Regions from separate parts of the Homo sapiens genome. Here regions 2 and 3 are each linked to region 1. Evidence: promoter capture Hi-C in 16 types of primary human blood cells and fetal thymus (Javierre and others, 2016). All regions are on one chromosome and are shown on one strand. The core of a region is centred on a gene start or on the middle of the fragment in contact, and the rest is flanking DNA. Distances in the headings are between cores, read along the strand shown. Region 1 holds the start of KDM4C (lysine demethylase 4C). Region 2 overlaps ERMP1 (endoplasmic reticulum metallopeptidase 1). Region 3 holds the start of RANBP6 (RAN binding protein 6).

Evidence for each region. Contacts are between HindIII fragments. The CHiCAGO score rates a contact against its expected background, and 5 or more counts as called.
Region 2: a contact is called between a fragment that was not itself captured here and the fragment with the promoter of KDM4C in region 1, in 1 of 17 cell types (activated CD4 T cells). The highest score is 5.7, in activated CD4 T cells.
Region 3: a fragment that was not itself captured here is called in contact with the fragment with the promoter of KDM4C in region 1 in 4 of 17 cell types (M2 macrophages, monocytes, naive CD4 T cells and 1 more); the score reaches 5.9 in M2 macrophages.

What each region holds. Positions count from the first base shown.
Region 1 is chr9:6,756,537-6,759,372 of GRCh38, reverse strand. It overlaps KDM4C (lysine demethylase 4C), which reads right to left and starts at 1,400. Exons shown (of 22, transcript NM_015061.6): 1 at 1,170-1,400. RefSeq lists enhancers at 87-306, 1,507-1,866, 2,598-2,836 and silencers at 967-1,136, 1,227-1,466. The HindIII fragment of the contact is 10,552 bases long and covers 1-2,836 here.
Region 2 is chr9:5,828,891-5,831,726 of GRCh38, reverse strand. ERMP1 (endoplasmic reticulum metallopeptidase 1) reads left to right here. Exons shown (of 15, transcript NM_024896.3): 2 at 699-1,000. Among named protein-coding and RNA genes, the nearest start is that of ERMP1, 2.8 kb to the left of the region's middle. The HindIII fragment of the contact is 1,773 bases long and covers 605-2,377 here.
Region 3 is chr9:6,013,784-6,016,619 of GRCh38, reverse strand. RANBP6 (RAN binding protein 6) reads left to right here and starts at 996. Exons shown (of 1, transcript NM_012416.4): 1 at 996-2,836. The coding sequence starts at 1,013. RefSeq lists an enhancer at 1,118-1,177. The HindIII fragment of the contact is 2,610 bases long and covers 82-2,691 here.

The sequences.
Region 1 (2,836 bases), core at 151-2,650:
CACTAGTTTTCAACCACAACACTTCGAAATGAGAATATTAGTCACCGTTGCCATAGAAACAGTAAAGCCAAGCTGCCCGGAATTTAGACATTTTTTTAAATACCGCAAACTGAAATGGGTGAAAATAGGGCAGAGTTTAGTGTGAACCTAAGTGGCCGGAACCTACTAGTAACTTTCACCAGGATAAAAGTGACTCTGCTTTTCTAACCTACATTTCCGAACAGTGCTTTATAAATCACCTCTCGGGGTTAGTTTATCAAGCGCAAAAAAAAGTTTACCTTGTCTCTTCCGGAAGAAGGAACCTGACAAAACCCCTCCCGGTAGTATTGCCCACAATCAGAGCCAGCCAGCGCAGGCTTGCACCGCGCAGCAAAGGGGGAGCCCAGCATCAAGTCCACGCGGAAAGCATCTGAATCCCGGCTGCTGGCTTTACTGGCGGAGCACAGAGGAAAACCCCAAGCTCCTGCCTACAGCCCCGGCCTGTCTGGCTCCCTCCTCCACGTCCCCACTCCACGCCACGTTCTGTGCCTGGCAGTCCACGCGCCCTAATCCAACTCGCATTTATTTAAGCACCCGCCGTCTACACCGCATCATGGTTCCTCCAGGCACTGCAGGAAGAAATGGCCCCATGCCGGGGGAAAGAAACACCAAAAGGACAGCCGCGAGGGCTGAAGACGACCCCGAATGACGGGATGACTGCCTGCAACGGGTGGTCAGGAGAGGAGCTCCCACCCTCACCCCGCGGGTCGTGACACTCCCAGGGAAGGGAGGGCCCCGAGGGGTGCACCAGGCCCGGCCTTCCTGGAGTCCGCCACAGCCGACTGGCGGCGTTAAGAGGTCCGCATCCCAGGACCGCCCGAGCGCTCCTCTGCCCCAAGGAGGCGACCCCGACTCCGGATCCCGGGAAAACGGCGAGCGCGGGTACCGAACCTCGGTAAGGGCCGGAGCGGGCTGTCACCGGCCCCCGCATCCCTCCCCTGCGGCCGCGGCCGGCCGCTCCCTCCCCAGCTTGACAGTCGCTGCAGTCACGGACGGAGCGTCTCTGCCCCAGCGTCGCCGCTCGCCCGGACGCCCGCACCCCCGTGCCCCACGCGGAGGGGGGCAGTGCCGGGAAGACCTCTCCGGACCCTCCCCCCGCCCTGGCCCCCAGACTCCGGAAAAGCGGTTACCTGGCGCGCGGGTTGGGGCGAGAGCACGACTCGGTGGAGGAGGAAGAGAAGACAGTGGCCTCCGGCCCAGGGAGATTTGGGAAATTTGGGAGACTTGTTCCGCACTAGGTGACAGCTGTTCGCTGCGCACGCGCACAGGACCCCGGCCGCCCGATCACTGCGCCGCGCCTCACCCTCCCGTCGAGGGGGTGGGTGGGAGGCAGCGGCGAAGGCGCGCGCACCGCCGGCTCTCCCTGCGCGAGGGCGCGCGCGCCGTCACGTGACCGCTGGGGCCCGCACTTGGTGAGTCACGTGGGCTTACAAACAGCTTAAAGGTGCCCGGCACGCTCTTGCTTTGGGCTCAACTTCCGCGCTGTGGTTAACTTAGGCTTGCTGGCGCGCATCTTCTTGTCCTTTGGACACAGGCATATCCCATTCTTTCCGGAGGGGAAAGATACTCGCGTAGAAGGAGAAAACAGGTGCACAGAACCTTGCCCGGAAGCGCTGGCTGGGGTCCCGCAGGGCTGGACCTGATGTAGTCCACGCGCCACACGTCCTCCTGGGCGCCGACGCGCACCTATGGCGGCCTCCGACGCGCGGACGTCAGCGTGGCGTTACCGGGGTGGAGCCTCGGAATGTACTGGAGAGCCTGGCGAGAAAGTCGGGGCTCGCAGCTCTCCGGCGATGACAGCGCTGTGTTCCCGTTCTCCCTTCACCCGGTGGCCGGGACCACTGAGCCTCCTTCCCACAATGGGAGATCCCGAATAGGCGAAGAGTATCTTCGTGTCCCAACCCTTTAACAACTACCGCGCAGGAGCGTGTCAGCCTCTGGAAGCAAAACTGTCCGGTGTTGAGTCACCTACACCCAGCACGTCCCGCCCCGACCCGCCCAAGTGTGCTCTTAAGATAGGGAGGCACAAAGGTGACCCCAATAGGAATCCTGGGCTGGCGGTCCCTCAGAAACTAGAGTTGATAACAGTTTGGCCAGAACTGAAGTGACTAGAAATGCAGGTGCCTCCAGCGTCTGAGACTAGATAAGTTAACTTCCTACAACTTGTTGCTTTTCCTCTGTAACTCCGCCTTCCGAGGTGTCAGAAGGAACCAACCAGACCTTAAGCCCCTGTACTGCCAAAGACAGATGGTTGAGCATCAGATGTTTTGCAAAGCTGAATGATTTTTTTTTTAAACTTCCTACAGAGCTCCCAGCTGGGTCCCTTGTGGCGTTTTCTCTAACGTCTTAGCTAAGAAAGATTGGGCATATCTTCACACCAGTGAGCAAAGTTGGGCTAATATGCTGAATTTTCTGTTACATTATACTGATAACAGAATTTTAAAAATATATCGACACCGCTTACCACGCGCTTGAACTCGTTTCTCACTGGGGTGAACATTGTGAGGACAGATGGAATGTGATTAATTGAGCTAAGGCTAACGGGATTATTGGGTCACCATATTTCTTTAGTTGTTAAAAACAAAGTTCCGCTACACACACAGACACACTCTTTTTTGAGACGGAGTCTTGCTGTGTCGCCCAGTTTGGAGTGCAATGGCGCTATCTCGGCTTACTGCAACCTCCGCCTCACGGGTTCGAGAGATTCTCCTGCCTCAGCCTCCCGAGTAGCTGGGATTACAGTCGCCCGCCACCACGCCCAGCTAATTTTTGTATTTTCAGTAGAGACAGGGTTTCG
Region 2 (2,836 bases), core at 242-2,741, 930 kb after region 1:
TTTTTGCTCATTGGTTTCTGCTACTTAAAGTCATTAACCCAGAATCTGTAACGTTCAGGAGTATGCACAGTGAAGTTATATTCTATCCTGCTTAGTCTTTAGCTTTTTTTGTTTGTTTTCTGAGACAGGGCCTGGCTCTGTCGCCCAGGCTGGAGTGCAGTGGCTCCATCTCGGGTCTGTAGCCTCCACCTCCCAGGTTCAAGCAGTCCTCCCACCTCAGCCTCTTGAGTAGCTGGGACTACAGGCGGATAGTAGTCTACATCTGGCTAGTTTTTGTAGTTTTAGAAGAGATGGGGTTTCACCATGTTGCCCAGGCTGGTCTCAAACTCCTGAGCTCAAGCAATCCACCCACCTCAGCCTCCGAAAGTCCTGGGATTACAGGCGTGAGCCACCGTGCCTGGCCAGTGGTCACACGTTTTGAATACATCCCTAGTCCTTGTATTGGTTTGATATGGGGAGAAGTTGGGAGTGGGATGGTGGAGAAAACTGAAGGGGTCAACTCGTGGGAGGCAACAATAAAAATATGGAACTTTATAAGTGATGTTCACTTGGTGTCTGAAATAATGAAAGGCGGTCCCTTTTATATAAGGCAAAGAACTAAGCTTTTTTGGGGAGGAAGGGGTGTGTAGTGGAAAAGTTACCCACGCTAAGTGTCAATTTTAACTACAAACCTTTGTTATTCTTTTGGTTACTTCCAGGGATTATCTTGAACACATAACCTCCATTGGCCCCAGGACTACAGGAAGTCCAGAAAATGAAATTCTGACCGTGCACTACCTTTTGGAACAGATTAAACTGATTGAAGTGCAAAGCAACAGCCTTCATAAGATTTCAGTAGATGTACAACGGCCCACAGGCTCTTTTAGCATTGATTTCTTGGGAGGTTTTACAAGCTATTATGACAACATCACCAATGTTGTGGTAAAGCTGGAACCCAGAGATGGAGCCCAGCATGCTGTCTTGGCTAATTGTCATTTTGACTCAGTAGCAAACTCACCAGGTATGTACCTGTTTTTTAGTCATTTGGAACTTGTCACAGCCCAGAAAGTTTATTAACATAACCCCAAGCTACTTGGGCAATTGTGGGGACCATTTTCTTGGGCAAACCTTTTTTCTTTGTGATGGAAAGCAGGATAATTAGGATAGTATCATTTAGTTTAGGATCTAACCATTCTGTCTTCTCTTAAGTGCTTTATTAATATTATTTTTTGGTGTTAATGCCAGCAGCCCAGTGATAAGACTTGGAATGTTTCTGGTAGACTGAAGCAGCTTTCTCAATGTTACCAGACAGTGTGTGTGTCCTAGTGTCCTGGAGTTAGGTTCTGACACTTAGAAAGTGTTTTACTCAGCTGGGTGTTATACTAGGCTTTGGGGATACCACATAAGGACAGTCCCTGCCTTCAAGGGTTACTGCATGGTTTTAGAGCAGGGGTGTCCAATCTTTTGGCTGCCCTGGGCCACATTGGAAGAAGAAGAATTGTCATGGGCCACACATAATATACACTAATGATGGCTGATGAGCTTAAAAAAAAAAACTCATGTTTTAAGAAAGTTTACAAATTTGTATTGGGCTGCATTCAAAGCTGTCCTGGGCTGCGGGTTGGCGGATATCTCTTCTAGCAGATTCTGTTGACCTATAAAGTGAGAATTTTGCTCCACTGAGGGTGCCATACTGTTAAAGTACCTAATTAATGTGTAAATCTTTCTCTGAAAATCATTTGGCAAAATAGAATACTTGCATTTAGGACAGTGCCTGATGCAGTATATATTTGTCAAATGAATGGGAATCCCCTAAATTGAACTTCCATTTATTAAAATATTTATTTTTCAGAAAATTGTATTCAGTGGTTAAAGGGATTGTAAATAGGGATGGAAAATAGCATTTACAATGGCATAGCATTTTAGTGGTAGACAAGACCTGAGATGGCATCTGGCTGAACCCCTCATTTGATACAGGAGTACATTTAGCTAGCTGGTCATCGCTGATCAGAGACAAAACTAGGATAAGATGCTGGATTTCCTGGCCAGTCAGTTCTTTCAGCTACATTTGAAAGGAAAAAGAATATTAGGGTGTAATTAATACTCCCTTTTGCAAATTGCTTAACTTCTTAGTTTCTCATCTGTGTAATGGAGAAAATAATAGTACTTTCCTAATAGTGTTGCTTGGAGGATTAAAAATAAGTAAAACGCTAAAATAGTACCTGGCATGGAAAGTGATTTTTAAAAGTTTTTATTAACTCTTATGTAATATTAACACTTCTGGATTACTCGAACTTATAGCAGGCCAAATTTGAACGTCTAGAGTTATACAAAATGTAAGTAAAATTTATTTGCTTGATAAAATGATTCATATTAGAATATCTTCATTTAGAAAGCTTGACAATTGCGTTTAGAATGTAACTTGCATTTTCAAAAATCAGTATACACACGTTTGTTAAATAAGCCAGAAGTACCTTCGTGTGCTGCTGGGGTAACCAGTGGTTTAGTGTTTTTTTTTTTTTTTTTTTGGCTGGGGGGCCAAGTCTCACTCTGTCACCAGGCTGGCATGCAGTGGCACAATCTTGGCTCACTGCATCCTCTGCCTCCCGGGTTTAAGCGATTCTCCTACTGTGCCACCACACTCGGCTGATTTTTTTTGTATTTTTGGCAGCGACAGGGTTTCACCATGTTGGCCAGGCTGGTCTTGAACTCCTGACCTCAAGTGATCCGCCTACCTCAGTCTCCCAAATTTCTGAGATTATAGGTGTGAGCCACTGTGCCCGGCCACCAGTGGTTTTTTTATGTCCATTTCAAAGCAGTAATAAATGTCACTCTTTGCCCACTATTATGATGCTTA
Region 3 (2,836 bases), core at 137-2,636, 740 kb after region 1:
GAGCTACCACTCTACTGCATTAGATGTGGTAGTGGGGAAGTAATTATTATTTTATTATCACACTTATTATTTTATAAAGCTTTATTGTAGTATTATTTATATGCCATACAATTCACCAATTTAAATTTAACAACTCAATGGTTTTTAGTATAATCACAGAATTGTGCAACCATCACAATTAATTTTAGAACATTTCATCACTCAGAAAGAAACACCCTATTTGATAGCAGTCATTCTCTATCCTCCCCTCCCCCCAACCTCTGGCAACCACTAATTTCTGTTATACAATTTGCCTGTTTGGTACCTTTCATACAAATGGAATCATACAATATGTGGTTGTGACTGGTTTCTTTCACTTGGCATGTTTTCAAGATAGACTTATTGTTTTAAAATTATCAAAGTAACAATATAGTTTAGAAATAAAAGAAAAAAATCACTCATAATCTGACCAGAAGCAGTGGCTCACACCTGTATTCCCAGTACTTCGGGAGGCCGAGGCGGGCAGATCACCTGAGCCCAGGAGTTCGAGACCAGCCTGGGCAACATGGCGAAACCCTGTCTCTATAAAAAACACAATTAGCCGGGCGTGGTGGCGCGCGCCTGTGGTCCCAGCTACTGGGGGAACTGAGGCGGGGAGGATCGCTTGAGCCCAGGAGGTTGAGGCTGCAGTGAGCAGGGATCGCGCCGCTATACTCCAGCCTAGGTGACACAGCCAGACCTTGTATCCAAAAAAAAAAAAAGTCATGATCCCATTCTAATCAATGCTTTTCTTCTCTCGCCTGCAAGTGCACGTTTATCTTATTGAAAAACAAATGGAGGATGCCATTGGCCTCCACACGGCTCTCACCTCTCTCCAAAACCTAGCTCGCAGCCTGCCAGAGCGCAGCTAGAGTTTCTGGGCAGAGGAGGGAGAAGCACCCCGCCCATCCCCGCCGGCGCCTCGCCTACGTCACTGCTTCGAGCCGCAGACCCCCTCCCTCCTTCCCGGTCGCGGTAGCTTTGACAGAGCGCAATGGCGGCAACCGCGTCTGCAGGGGTGCCGGCGACCGTGTCAGAAAAGCAAGAGTTTTACCAGCTTCTGAAGAACCTGATCAATCCAAGCTGTATGGTGCGGAGGCAAGCAGAGGAAATCTATGAAAATATCCCAGGTCTGTGTAAGACTACCTTCCTCTTAGATGCCGTCAGAAATAGAAGAGCAGGTTATGAGGTGAGACAAATGGCTGCCGCACTGCTACGACGGCTTTTGTCCTCTGGGTTTGAGGAGGTTTATCCAAATCTGCCTGCTGATGTTCAGAGAGATGTCAAGATTGAACTGATTCTGGCTGTTAAGTTAGAAACACATGCTAGCATGAGGAAAAAACTTTGTGATATTTTTGCAGTGCTGGCCAGGAATTTGATAGATGAGGATGGCACTAACCACTGGCCGGAAGGTCTGAAGTTTCTTATTGATTCAATCTACTCCAAAAATGTGGTTCTATGGGAAGTTGCACTTCACGTTTTCTGGCACTTTCCTGGGATTTTTGGGACCCAAGAGCGGCATGATTTGGATATCATCAAACGGTTGTTGGACCAGTGTATTCAAGATCAAGAACATCCAGCAATCAGGACATTATCCGCTAGAGCTGCAGCTGCATTTGTACTTGCTAATGAGAATAATATTGCTCTTTTCAAAGACTTTGCAGACTTGCTTCCTGGAATCTTACAGGCTGTGAATGACTCATGCTACCAGGATGATGATTCAGTGCTAGAATCCCTTGTTGAGATTGCAGATACCGTACCTAAGTACTTGGGTCCTTATTTAGAAGATACTCTACAGTTGAGTTTGAAGTTATGTGGAGACTCTAGGCTTAGTAATCTGCAGCGCCAGCTGGCCCTCGAAGTTATAGTGACCTTGTCTGAAACTGCCACTCCGATGTTGAAAAAACATACAAATATTATTGCACAGGCAGTTCCTCATATATTAGCAATGATGGTTGATCTACAAGATGATGAGGACTGGGTAAATGCTGATGAAATGGAAGAAGATGATTTTGACAGCAATGCAGTTGCTGCGGAGAGTGCACTAGACAGACTGGCTTGTGGGCTTGGTGGAAAAGTTGTTTTACCAATGACCAAGGAGCATATCATGCAGATGCTTCAGAGCCCTGACTGGAAGTATCGACATGCTGGATTAATGGCCTTATCTGCCATTGGAGAAGGATGCCATCAACAAATGGAATCAATTCTAGATGAAACAGTTAACTCCGTTTTGCTTTTTCTTCAGGATCCTCATCCAAGGGTGAGGGCTGCAGCCTGTACTACACTTGGACAGATGGCTACAGATTTTGCACCTAATTTCCAAAAGAAATTTCATGAAACAGTGATTGCAGCTCTGTTACGTACCATGGAAAATCAAGGTAATCAGCGTGTGCAATCACATGCAGCTTCTGCTCTTATTATTTTTATTGAAGACTGCCCTAAATCATTGCTAGTTCTATATGTGGATAGTATGGTGAAAAATCTACATTCCGTCTTGGTGATTAAACTTCAAGAGTTGATTCGGAATGGAACTAAGTTGGCTTTGGAACAACTTGTGACAACCATTGCATCAGTTGCAGATACAATAGAAGAAAAATTTGTCCCATATTATGATATATTCATGCCCTCACTAAAGCACATTGTTGAGCTTGCTGTTCAGAAGGAACTCAAGCTTCTGAGAGGAAAAACTATCGAGTGCATTAGCCATATTGGTCTTGCTGTTGGGAAGGAAAAATTTATGCAAGATGCATCAAATGTGATGCAGCTGTTGTTGAAGACACAATCAGACTTAAATAATATGGAAGATGATGACCCTCAG